Regions from separate parts of the Homo sapiens genome. Here regions 2 and 3 are each linked to region 1. The links are contacts of gene promoters, found by promoter capture Hi-C in human tissues and cell types (Jung and others, 2019). All regions are on one chromosome and are shown on one strand. Each heading gives the region's core, a stretch centred on a gene start or on the middle of the fragment in contact. The rest is flanking DNA. Distances are from core to core; before and after follow the strand shown. Region 1 holds the start of ZCCHC24 (zinc finger CCHC-type containing 24). Region 2 overlaps TMEM254-AS1 (TMEM254 antisense RNA 1). Region 3 has its middle 14 kb from the start of PLAC9.

What was found. Contacts are between HindIII fragments. The study calls those that stand out against the background at their distance.
Region 2: a fragment that was not itself captured here is called in contact with the fragment with the promoter of ZCCHC24 in region 1 in 1 of the 25 tissues and cell types used here (heart left ventricle).
Region 3: a contact is called between a fragment that was not itself captured here and the fragment with the promoter of ZCCHC24 in region 1, in 2 of the 25 tissues and cell types used here (aorta and liver).

The regions. Positions count from the first base shown.
Region 1 is chr10:79,444,365-79,448,798 of GRCh38, forward strand. ZCCHC24 (zinc finger CCHC-type containing 24) reads right to left here and starts at 1,260. Exons shown (of 4, transcript NM_153367.4): 1 at 831-1,260. The coding sequence starts at 1,076. It overlaps LOC105378383 (a long non-coding RNA gene), which reads left to right and starts at 1,877. Exons shown (of 4, transcript XR_946104.4): 1 at 1,877-4,434. RefSeq lists silencers at 1,113-1,172, 1,183-1,692. The HindIII fragment of the contact is 26,514 bases long and covers 1-4,434 here.
Region 2 is chr10:80,058,235-80,062,378 of GRCh38, forward strand. It overlaps TMEM254-AS1 (TMEM254 antisense RNA 1), which reads right to left. Exons shown (of 4, transcript NR_027432.1): 2 at 2,582-2,699. Among named protein-coding and RNA genes, the nearest start is that of TMEM254, 18 kb to the right of the region's middle. The HindIII fragment of the contact is 3,519 bases long and covers 849-4,144 here.
Region 3 is chr10:80,116,724-80,121,246 of GRCh38, forward strand. No RefSeq gene overlaps it. Among named protein-coding and RNA genes, the nearest start is that of PLAC9, 14 kb to the right of the region's middle. The HindIII fragment of the contact is 5,076 bases long and covers 727-4,523 here.

The DNA of each region.
Region 1 (4,434 bases), core at 10-2,509:
AAGAGGCGCTGCCCAGTCAACTTTGTAACTGAATCCACCAAACAGGCAGACTTTGCAACACAGCCGGCCCAGGTTTCTGCAGAAGGCGCTGGGCAGCTGGAACCTCTCCCCCCCCCTTTCTAGCCCCCCTCCCAAGAGCTCAAGAGGATTTCCCTTTCATTTCCTTCGAGGCTGGGAGGGCTGGGGACAGCGCAGTCTGTGGGGTCAAGCCCTCAGAAACCACTTCCTATGTGGCTGGGGGAGGGCGAGCAGCTGGAGGACGTATCTGGGGTCCCCGAGTGAGAACAGCAGGAGAAGCCCTCTGGGCAGTCACTGCTCTCCAGGGTGCCTTTCGGGTCGGGAACCGCAGAGGTCGGAGAAAAGATTTTAGGCCCTTCCAGAGGAGCTCCGAGCAGAATCTGCACTCTCGGTCCCAGCCCGCGGTGGCCAGGACGAGGATAAGGTTGGGCGTGAGAAGGACACTTCGAAGGGGCTCCCCGCCCAGGCCGCACCCCAGCTGTCTGAAGAAAATCCGGAGACAACCCCTCCTCAACTCCCTCCCCCAACCCCTTTGGAGCAGGGCTGCCCTGGCAGGGAGAGGGGGCGGGAGAGCTCCGCCCCGGCCTGCATTGCTCCAGCCCGGGCTCAGCCGGGAGGTGACGCGCACCCGGCACCCCGGGGACTTCGGGCGGCGAGTTTGGCAGAGTTGAACGAAGCCAAGCCAAGCCGGGCCCGGCAATGCGGAGCCGGGCCGCGCCAGGCCAGGAAGAGCGGGTCAGACAGGGAACGGCCCGCCACGGTGGGGCGGTGGGGCGGTGGGGCGGTGGGCGGGGGCGCGCGGGGGCACCCACCTCTCCGCGCTGCAGCTGGAAGAAGCTGTTGAGATAGCTGGAGTGCAGGGGCGAGCCCAGCTGCTCGGGGCGGCCCTTGCCGAAGGCCAGCTCCGGGGGTGCGGCGCCGGCGGTCGGCTCGGGCCGGAAGGCATCGAAGGCGCTAGCCTGGTGCGTGTCCTGCAGCGACAGGTAGACCCAGTTGAGCAGCTGGGCGGGCTGGTACACCGAGGCGGCGCTCGTGTCGATGGCCGACAGCAGGCTCATTTTGTGGCGGCGGTGCCGGCCCCTCCCCGGCCGCCCGCTCGCGGCCCCCCTCCGCAGCGGAGGGGCGGGCACCGGGGAGCCTGTGCCCACTGCCCGCCTCCCGAGCCCCGACGGTGATCGCCCCGCGCCCTGCGCCCCGCGCGCTGCCCGCAGCCGCTGCCGCTGCCGCCGCCTCCCCCCGACTGCGGCCCCGGCGCGCGCAGGCGGTGGAAGGAGGCAGCGAAAGTTGGGCAGGAAACTTTTGGCCCCGCCCCTCCGCCCCGCCCACTGCGTCCCGCCCCGCCCGGCGATCCGCTATCTGCCTCGCGGCTGACCCCTCCAGCGGCGGCTCCGGGGGTGGGGTCCACGATGCCCCGCCGCCCACTCCCTGCCCCGCCTGGCACTGTCCTCGCCCTGCATTGGCTGTCTCGTTGAATATGAACCGTCAGGGGTGGGGAGAGAGGGGAGTGAGGCTCATCTGCATATGCAGCACGGCGCGGGCCCGCCCATGCGAGGCCCCGCCCAAGCCCCACCTCGTCCCAGCCCGGCCAACCCAGCTCCCCGAGCTGCCGGGAGCTCAGTGCAGCCCCGGCCTAATCAATTTCGTCTCCCTCTGTCGTCAGCGCTCTTGTCTCGTTCTTTCCAAATCCTCTGCAATTGTTTTTCACTCACTTTTCCTTTCCTATTTTCCCTCCTTTCTCATACTCCTTCTTTCTCTCTCTCTTAGACTAGTACTAGTCTCCTGTGTCCGTCGTCCTTGTATGTGGCGCCCTCCGTGTGTGTGTGTGTGTGTGTGTGTGTGTGTATGTCCTTCTCTTTCTCTCACTCTTCTTGTCTCCTTTCTTCTATTTCCGTCTGGTCTGATGTTTCTCCCTGTCTCTCCCGCTCCTCTCTCAGACGCGTGTACACAGACGCACACACTTCTAACTCCCTCCTCTCGCTATCACCATCGGACCCTCCCCCTCCTACTTAATTCCTTCCATCTGCAGAATCACTTTGCGGGCCGGCTGCGCCAAGGGGGGCCCGGGTTCCTGCCCCAGGAAAGACTCCCCGCCCCCTCCCCCCCCCCTTCTCCTATTTCTGCTCTGGGCCCGCCTCGCTTCTCGACCCTCTTCCTCCACCCCGGCTCCAGCCCTAGCCCGCCCCGGTGCCTTGGCGAGTCGCCAGGACACCAGCCTGGGCCGGGGGAGCTCGGGAAAGCGGCTGTCACCCATCTCGCTGGGACAACTCAGCTAGTCCAAGACTGCCTGGAGGGAGCCCCGCCCCCGCCTCCGCCTCCGCCTGACGCCCCAGGAAGCCCCGGGGCCTTCACCGTCTCTTTCTCCGGGTGGTCTTTGCTGCGCCAGCACCGGGGACCTAGCCCAGAGGAACTCACCGCCTGGCTGGGACCGAGTCACCTCTCCCACTTTCAGTCTGGCTCTGGAGCCATTCCGCCCAGCGTTGGAGTGCCAGCTTGGCCACCGTCCAGCGGAATGACCTCTGCATGACGCCTAACCTCTGCGAGCAAGCCTGTTTTCTCCTCTGTAAAATGGGAGCAGTCATCCTCCCGCCGCCGGGGACATTTGTGTGCTTCCCAGCTTGGGTTTGGTAAGCGGAAGATATTCCATAAAGGACAGCTCTTCCCCGCCACCCACTCCACGAGTTACTCACATCACCTGCAGGGCACCTAACCACATCTATGGTCGCTCGCACCACGAAGGCCTTCAGTGATGACCAAATGCCACCCTTTTTCACCAACCAAGAGGCCCTTGGATCTCAGATCTCCATCTTGTCTATCAATTTGCAGTTATTAATACAAACGACAGCATATGTATCAATCATGTCTTCATATTTTCATTCATCAAGAACACATCTATACAGTACCCTTTATATTTTTAAACAGTATTAAACCTATTTGTTTAAAGAGTAGGTACACGGTTCTTGCAAATGGCTCACCTGTAATCCCAGCACTTTGGGAGGCCAAGGCAGACAGACTGCTTGAGCCCAGGAGTTCCAGACAAGCCCTGGAAACATGGCAAAACCTCATCTCTACAAAAAAATGCAAAAATTAGCCGGGCGTAGTGGCGCATGCCTGTGGTCCCAGTTACTCAGGAGGCTGAGGTGGAAGGATCACTTGAGCCCAGGAGGTGGAAGCTGCAGTGAGTCGAGATCATGCCACTGCACTCCAGCCTGGGCAACAGAGTGAAACTTTGTACCCCCCGCCCCCACACCAAAAGAAATAGTTGGGATTATCTCTGGAACTCTGCTGCTGTCTTTGAGCTTCCAAGGATGGAGGTAGGATTTGGAACCACTGATAAGACCTTCCCTAGATTTTATAGAGAAAACTGCTGTTCAGGGAGGGGACATAACTAGGAATCTGACACCTGCTTAGAGAAACCTCTGATCCTTCCCTGTGTCCTTCAGAGTGATTTGATGCCAAGAAGGTGTTTATCATGCCTGGTGACCACATTGATGGCCTCTGCCTCTTTCTCCCCAACATAGTTTCTACCCAGAGCCTGGAGCATAGATAGTAAATAATCAGGAAATAGTTGCTGGGTTGATGATTGAATGAATAGGTGGAGAGACGCATGGATGCCCAGATTTTGCTCCTCTTTGAAGCCTGAGCGGCTTCTTTGGTTTTGTACTTTTCTCCCTCTCCTTGCCCACAGGACAGCTGCTCAACATGTGGGCTCTGTACCCAGTAGGTGACTAATAAATATGAGCATCCTATAGGCAGTTTGCCTGGATGGCAACTGATTGACCTAAGGTCAGCCCTCAGCCAGCTGCTGGGAATGCATGCTCCAGGATCCCCTGAAACAACATGTACGGTGGGAGAGGGTAATAGGTGAGAGTGACCAGATGGGTATCAGAGGCCTAGGTACCAGGCCAGAAGACCGGGCCACGCCCAAACTCTGCACCTTCTTGCCCTATCATGTGCACACTAAGGAACTCTGCATTTAAAATGTCAGAGGTTCCAAGCCCTCACTTTACAAAGGAGGAGGTACCATGGCCCAGAGAAGGAAAAGAACCATCCCAGGGTCTCTCAGTAAACCTGATAGCTAAGCCACCTGCTCCTAACCCACTACTACCTCCCAGCTCTCTCTTCATTGATCCCAGTGTGGCAGCATTCAGGTGTGGCAGCTCTGGCCCCATATACTGTCCTCAGACTGGAAGGCAGGAGGGAGCACCCAGGTGAGGCTCACATCCCTGTCCCCTTCCCTGTCCAGTGGCTCCAGCCATCCCACAGTCTCCAGAATGGGTCAGTGGAATGAACACAAGATTTGGAGGAAAGACCTGGCCCAGTGACCTTGGGTAGGCCTGCCCTCTCTGTAAACCTCAGTTTTTCCAGGTATCAGATGGGAATGTTGATCCCATCCTTACCAACTTCTACAGTGACTGA
Region 2 (4,144 bases), core at 1,358-3,857, 620 kb after region 1:
AAGAAGAGGAAAATAACTAGCAGGAATTAAAGCAGGTGAAAATAAAGTTTGAATTGGGCAAGGTAATGGCTGACTTGCAGGAAGGAAACAGCCCCAAATGATTTCGGTTTCTCACTTCATTCCAGGGTGGACCGCGCCTCTGCAACAACAACAACAACAACAGAAAAAAAAAACAGGAAAAAGCAGGAGGAACAACTCGTGGTTTTCTTCATTTCCGCGCAAGGATGGTTAACATAACCTCCTTTCATCCTGGGACTCCAGCAGGTCCTTTCAAGCAGTGCCAGATGCTTTGGGGTAGTTGAAGAAATATTTTGGGAGCTGGAAGTCTTGGAGAATATCAACGACTGAGAGAGTAGAGCAAACCAAAATTAGATTGGGCCTATGCTGAGTTCTTTGGCTTTTTTGTCTTCCCAGTAATTCGGGCCCGCTTTGTGGTTGTTGATTTATTATTTTTTGAGACCGAGTCTTGCTCTGTCACCCAGGCTGGAGTACAGTGGCAGGATCTCGGCACACTGCAAGCTCCGTCTCCCAGGTTCAAGCAATTCTCCTGCCTCAGTCTCGCGAGTAGCTCGGATTACAGGCACGCGCCACCACACCCAGCTAATTTTTGTATTTTTTGTAGACACTAGGTTTACGCAACTTCGCCGAGGCCGGTCTCGAACTCCTGAGCTCAAGTGATCCACCCACATTGGCCTCCCAAACGCTGGGATTACAGGCTTGAGCCACCACGCCCACTCGTGCTTTATTCTCAGTAACCTTGAAATCACACTAGGTGGCGACCTTCCCCGTCCGCCCCCATCAAGCTGCTTCCAAAAACATTTTTACCAGGCACCTTCACTTTCTTTCTTTTCATTCTTTTCTCAACTCCAGTCTCTCTGTTCTCACTGCATTGTTTAGACATCATTGGTAAAAGTTAACAAATCAGGTCCTAAATTGCCCGATCATACGGTTAATCTTCTTTCCTAAGTCATCGAACATTGTTAGCCAATCTTTGTCTTCCTTGAAAGCTCCCCTACTTCAGATTTTTTTTCTTCTTGCTGTTGCCCAGGCTGGAGTGCAGTGGCGCGATCTCGGCTCACTGCAACCTCCGCCTCCCTGGTTCAATCGATTATCCCATCTCAGCCTCCTGAGTAGCTTGGATTACAGGCGCAAGCCACAACGCCCGGCTAATTGTATTTTTAGTAGAAACAGGGCTTCACAATGTTGGCCAGGCTGGTCTCCAACTCTTGACCTCAGGTGATCCGCCCACCTCAGCCTCCCAAAGTGCAGGGTTACTTACAGGTGTGAGATTCTTTCCTTTTTTTTTTTTTTTTTTTTTTTTTTTTTTTTTTTTTGAGACGGAGTATTGTTCTGTTGCCCAGGCTGGAGTGCAGTAGCATGATCTCGGCTCACTGCAACCTCCACCTCCCGGGTTCAAGCAATTCTCCTGCCTCAGCCTCCTGAGTAGCTGGGACTACAGGTGCCCGTCACCACGCCCGGCTAATTTTTTTTTGCATTTTTAATAGAGACGGGGGTTTCACTGTTAGCCAGGATAGTCTCGAACTCCTGACCACGTGATCCAACCACCTCGGCCTCCCAAAGTGGTGGGATTACAGGCGTGAGCCACCACACCCGGCCCTGGCCCAGATTCTTTATCAAGCTCGGCTTTGGTGGATGTCCACTGAGTCCTTAATCCTTTTTCAAAATATCGCGAAACAGTAAGGGCCCAGCTTATACTGAGTGCTATGTATTGAGACCTGCAATGCAGCTGTGAATAGCACAAATGCAGTCTCTGAAAATCAACGTTCTGGTGAACTTTTAAAAATACGTAACTCCTGGCCGGGCGAGGTGGCTCAGGCCTGTAATCCCAGCACTTTGGGAGGCCGAGGCAGGTGGATCACGAGGTCAGGAGATCGAGACCATCCTGGCTAACACGGTGAAACCCCGTCTCTGCTAAAAATACAAAAAATTAGCCGGGCGTGGTGGCGGGCGCCTGTATTCCTAGCTACTTGGGAGGCTGAGGCAGGAGAATGGCGTGAACCCGGGAGGCGGAGCTTGCAGTGAGCTGAGATCCTGCCACTGCACTCCAGCCTGGGCGACAGAGCGAGACTCTGTATCAAAAAACAAAACAAAACAAAACAAAAATATATACATAGCTCCCAATTATCACCTGCAAAGCAAAGTCAGAATGTATTAGAATGCCTGGCAGGGAGTTTCATGACCTAACTACTATTAAACTCCCATTCAGACCAGGAGTGGTGGCTCACATCTGTAATCCCAGAATTTTGGGAGGCCAAGACAGATGGATCACTTCAGGTCAGGAGTTCGAGACCGGCCTGACCAACATGGCAAAACCCCGTCTCTACTAAAAATACAAAAATTAGCCAGGTATGGTGGCACATGCCTGTAATCCCAGCTACTCAGGAGGCTGAGGCATGATAATCGCTTGAACCTGGGAGTCGGAGGTTGCAGTGAGTTGAGATAGTGCCACTGCACTCCAGCCTGGGTGACAGCAAGACTCTATCCCCTCCAAAAAATATTTTTTAATAATTAAAATTTAAAAAAAATTATACTACCATTCAGCTTCGCCTTTGAGACTCACCACCTGCGAAATCTTTGTTCTAATAACCAGCCTTGTCCATTTCTAGGTGCTGAGATACTCTCGGCCCTCTTGGCTTCGTCCATCTGCTTCAGATGCCACAGAAGAGTTCCAAGTGACTCTGGAAAAAAAAAACACTTTGACCAAAACAAAGTTATCAACATGGCAATTTGATTTTAATGGTTATCTGGTTAAAATGAAAAAGACATCATTAGCAACAGGTGTGTAAGATTCTAGTGTTCTGTAAAATGATCTTGTTTTCCTTAAGTGTTCTTTTTTTTTTTTTTTTTCCAGGGTTGGGGGCAGGAAATTCCCAGCTTTTGGGGACATTTTTCCCCACTTTTTGGATACAATGAATTCATTGGATACAATGAATTCATTGGATACAATGAATGTTAAAAGTTCCATTAACTTAATGTCCAAAAGCAAGTTTAGTCCTTTGGTTTCCCTACTTCAAAATGTAGCATTTGCCTTCTTCATGACCAAAAGTAAACATGTTTGTAAAGCTATTTATCATTACTATTAAAGCTTGACAAAACCAGTGAATTTGGCAAATCAGTGATTCAGCAAATTGGCTTTCAACACATTTTGTTGATGATTTTATGTCAATTGACTATTCAATACATTTATATTTTCTCAAACTGAATTTCAGCTACTTGTCTGCTTCTTTCACATCACAAAACTTATTTCACTAAATTGTAACAATACAGAATAACTAACATTTATTATGTTTTTAATTTGTGCCACTTTTAAGCTAACTGCTGGCCGGGCCTGGTGGCTCATGCCTGTAATCCCAGCATTTTGGGAGGTCGAGGCAGGCAGATTACTTGAGGCGTGAAGTTCAAGACCAGCCTGGCCAACATGGCGAAATCCCCATCTCTACTAAAAATACAAAAATTAGCCGGGTGTAGTGGCACACACCTATAATCCCAGCTATTCAGAGGCTGAGGCACGACAATCCTTTGAGCCGGGGCATGGAGTTTGCAGTGAGCTAAAATCATGCCAATGTACTCCAGCCTGAGTGACAGAGGGAGACTCCCTCTTAAAAAAAAATAAGCTATTCACTTTCCAAACATAGATATATATGTTTGAAAAGTGATATATATACATATTATATATATATATATATATATATTTTAAGTTATATAGGTCAAATTTCTGCACAAAATCTAATTATCATCATTATCATTATTTGAAGATTTTTAGGAAGGGCAAACACACCCTGGTTTCCTCCCTTCTACTACAACACCCTCGTGGATTATCCCTGCCCCCTCATTCATTAATTCAATGCTCTGAGAACATTTCTGTTTGTAATCTTTGAATACAGAATCTCATAAGTGCTAAATAGAAACCTGTATTAAAACATTATTATGCTGCCTCTAGTAAATTCTTTTTGATTATTCCGTTGTCTGTCATATGAACTACAGTATGCTCAACCTGAGATAATTTGTCTTGTTCGCAGTTGACTCTACGAAAAGAGTCAAACTCTGTAAAACATTTGAAGAGATTTATTCTGAGCCAAATATGAGTGAACATGGCCTGTGACACAGCCCTCAGGATGTCCTG
Region 3 (4,523 bases), core at 2,015-4,514, 670 kb after region 1:
CCAGTCCAGCCTAGCCAGCATGGGAAAACCTACTAAAAAATACAAAAAGTAGCCAGGTGTGGTGGTGTGTGTCTGTAAGTTCCAAACTATTCGGGAGGCTTAGGTGGGAGGATCACCTGATCCCAAGAGGCGGAGGTTGCAGTGAACAGAGATCGCACCAGTGCACTCCAGCTTGTGCGACAGAGTGAGACCCTGTCTCGATTAAATCTATATTTATATATATAATGTGTGTGTATATATATATACACACACGTAACACATTATATATATAAATAAAATACTTGATTCTGAAATATGTTAGACACTATGAAATGTTATTAAGATCTTATAGGGCCGGGCGCGGTGACTCACGCCTGTAATCCCAACACTTTAGGAGGCGGAGGCGGGCAGATCACGAGGTCAGGAGATTGAGACCATCCTGGCTAACACGGTGAAACCCCGTCTCTACTAAAAAGTACAATAAATTAGACGGGCGTGGTGGCAGACGCCTGTAGTCCCAGCTACTCAGGAGGCTGAGGCAGGAGAATGGCGTGAACCCAGGAGGCAGAGCTTGCAGTGAAGCCGAGATCGCGCCACTGCACTCCAACCTGGGCGACAGAGGGAGACTCTGTCTCAAAAAAAAAAAAAAAAAAAAAAATCTTATAAAAGTTTGCTTTTATAAGACCATACGGTTTATCATATAATGTATAATATTTTATAATATATAATGCATATAAAACACATCATATGCATTTTAACACATGAAATTTACTAACAATCTTAAAAAATTTTGTTTAATATTCATGGCCTTGTTTCCCTAGTTTACTGTTTGTTGTCTTCACCTATACTATGAAGGGTTATTCTTTTTTTCTATGTAAATCTACCTAGATAGCAAAGATTCAGTGTTTTACCAGAATTATTTTTTGATTTTCATGTTGATTTTATTATGCCCTTGGTTATTTAAAGAAACAAGATTTGTTATTTAGGAGGGAGCTAAAGTTCTTTATGATCATGTTATTTTCTATCTTTATTTTTATTTATTTTTATTTATTTTCTTTTTTTTTTAGAGACAGAGTTTCACTCCTGTTGCTCAGGCTGGAGTGCAGTCATGTGATCTCTGCTCACTGCAATCTCAGCCTCCTGGATTCAAGTGATTCTCCTGCCTCAGCCTCCCAAGTAGCTGGGATTACAGGTGCCTGCCACCACGCCCAGCTAATTTTTTGTATTTTCAGTAGAGGTGGACTTTCACCATGTTGGTCTCAAACTCCTGACCTCAGCTGATCCATCTGCCTCGGCCTCCCAAAGTGCTGGGATTACAGGAGTGAGCCACTGCACCTGGCCTATTTTTAAATGTTGTATTGTCTCTTACAAATGGGTAGGCAAGTACTACTTCTCAGATGCCTATGATCCTACACTAAGTATTCAAATCTCCTGACAATTTTGTATTTTGCATTCCCAAAATTAGTCCTAAATGTGAAATAAAATAAAATAAAAGGAATGATAGCTGAGCTTTCCCAGACATACCATTGAAAATCACAAAAGATTTGTTACTTCCCCTTATGAAAAGAGAGGTGCCAGAAATAAATAGGTGTATTTGATATGTTACTATTGGTGAATTACACAGGAATAGATGAGATTATTTTTTATCAAAAGAGAGGGAAAGTGTAGGAAAATTTTCTTTCAATGGAAAATTAAGTATTGTCTATAGCACACCCTTTCACTTTATCTGCTTTTGATTCCATGGGAGCCATTTTACAGCTTGTAAAATGTAGATAACTGATAGAAATGAAAACTAATTCTTGGCTCTAGATCTGTACATTTAATCCTGCCAGTAGAGGTTCAATTGACTTCCCTTTCCCACCCTGGAAGAAGCTGGCTTGAGCTCTGTTGGTGAATGTGTTTCAACATTCCTTTGCTCCATATAATTGAGCTTTTCTGACTTCTCCTTTGAATTAGTTATAATCTGCCATTGGAGAGTCATGATTTTATCTTTTTTTTTTTTTTTTGAGATAGCGTCTTGCTCTGTCGCCCAGGCTTGAGTGAAGGGATGCAAGCTTGGCTCACTGAAGCCTTGACCTCCTGGGCTCAAGTGATTCTCCAAACTCAGCCCCCTGAGTAGCTAGAACTACATACATGAGCCACCATGCCTGGCTAATGACGATGATGATGATGATGATGATGATGATGATGATGATGTAGCAGGGGGTTGCACTATATTGCCCAAGCTGGTCTTGAACTCCCAGCCTTAAGCGATCTTCTCACCTCAGTTTCCCAAAATGCTGCTATTATAGGCATGAGCTGCCACTCCAGGCTGATGATTTTATCTTTTTAATAAATGAATCTTTTAACAATAAGGACAATATAAGTTAGTTCATTACAAATGATGGAAGCTTATTGCATTAGAGTTTTATTCTCCTCCTTAATCCTTGTTGCAAATACCTGGAAGGCAGTAACGGAAAGACCATTAGCTGGTATTAACCTTCAACTCTGGAATATGGCACCATCTCCTACCTTGCCCCTGGCAGTTACTTTCCTCCCCTACACTTATGCAGCCTCCTAGCTGGTTGGGGCTATACTATCTTCCCTCCCTACACCAGCAGGTGGGACTGGATCAAGAGTCCTAGGCAGAAAAGAGAGGGAGAGAGAGAGAGAGAAATCAAACTTGTGAAAAGAAGGGGGAAGCTGGGCGCGGTGGCTCACGCCTGTAATCCCAGCACTTTGGGAGGCCAAGTGGGGTGGATCATTTGAGGTTAGGAGTTCAAGACCAGCCTGGCCAACATGGTGAAACCCTGTCTTTACTAAAAATACAGAAATTAGACAGGTGTGGTGGCGCACACCTGTGATCCCAACTACTCGGGAGGCTGAGGCAGGAAAATTGCTTGAACCCAGGAGATAGAGGTGCAGTGAGCTGAGATTGCGCCATTGCACTCCAGCCTGGGCAACAGAGTGAGACTCCGTCTCAAAAAAAAAAAAGAAGAAGAGGGAATAAAAGAAAATTAAACAAGAGTCCCAGTCCTGGAAGGAAAATATCAATCCTAGTCTGGAAGGGAAGAGAAGCGGAGCAGGTTTAGAGGTTAGTCCTATTGTATTCATTTTATGGGGTCGGTGCAGCAGCTGAGTTGACATAAAGATATAAATGAGGCTTAGGGCAAGGAGATGAATATTTTAAGAAACTTTTTATTGATGGATCATGTATATACATTTTAAGAATTAAACACACCCATGAAATCAGCACCCAGACCAAATGACAGAACATTACCAGCAGCTCAGAAGCCCCCCCATTTCTCTTGCAGGAAATTGATACTGAGTTCTTGTGGCATGGATTAATTTTGCTTGGTTTGTACTTTATATCAATTGTATTATACAGCATTTTTTGAGAAAATTTCTTTCATCAATTGTATTTTCATCCATAATGTTGCATGTAGTGGTAGGTCATTCATTCTTTAGTCTGATGTCAATGGGAATTTGAGTAGTTTCCAGCTTAGGACTATTATAATAGTGCAGCTATGATCATTCTTGTTTTTCTTTTCTCTTCCTTCCTTCCTTCCTTCCTCTCTTTCTGTCTTTCTCTTTCTTTCTCTCTTTCTTTCTTTCTCTCTTTCTTTCTTTCTTTCTTTCTTTCTTTCTTTCTTTCTTTCTTTCTTTCTTTCTATCTAGGGTCTCACTCTGTTCCCCAGGTTGGAGTGCAGTGATACGATCTCGGCTCACTGCAGTCTCTGACTCCCAGGCTCAAGCCATCCTCCTACCTCAGCCTCCCGAGTAGCTGGGACTACAGGCATGCACCACCACACCCAGCTAATTTTGTATTTTTAGTGGAGATGGGGTTTCGCCATGTTGCCCAGGCTGGACTCAAGCAATCTGCCTGCCTCAGCCTCCCAAAGTGTTGGGATTACAGGCGTGAGCCACCACACCCATCTTGATCATTTTTATCCATATTTTTTATGACCATGCATTTCTGCTAGGTTTATGCCTAGGAATGGAATTGCCAGGTCATATTTATTTCTATGTCTGTCAATCTGTGTATATATTAAATACGAGGAGCTCATGCCAATGCCTCTTATTCTAATTTAACACAACAGGGTTCACTCTGCCCTTCCCTTTTCATTTGTAGTTCTTTCTTTGACAGTGAGAAGCCTACCTCCCACTAAATACAATATATTTACTTAATTGCTCAATCCCAGAATACCGATAAAATAGTTTCAGAGTTGGTAACCTATATTCCCTAGCTCTGTCTGCTGAGAGGGCCTAGAGGCAGTGACACCCCAGTAACAATGAGGACATCCAGTACCCAGATCTTAGTTTCTAAATACCATTCCCTCAAAAAAGGAAGCAGAGTTTTTTGGAGAAATGATTAAGTATAGGGCGGGGTCAGTGAAATTATAAAATAATCCTGGAACATCTTATGTCAGAAAGAAAGTGCTCAAAATACAATAAGGGCATTTCAAACAAACACAGGGGGGTGACTTGAAGACTCTCACAGTGGCTGTACCTGGGACAACTGGAGCAATGAGACAAATGATGTTGGTCATGAATTATCACTGGCA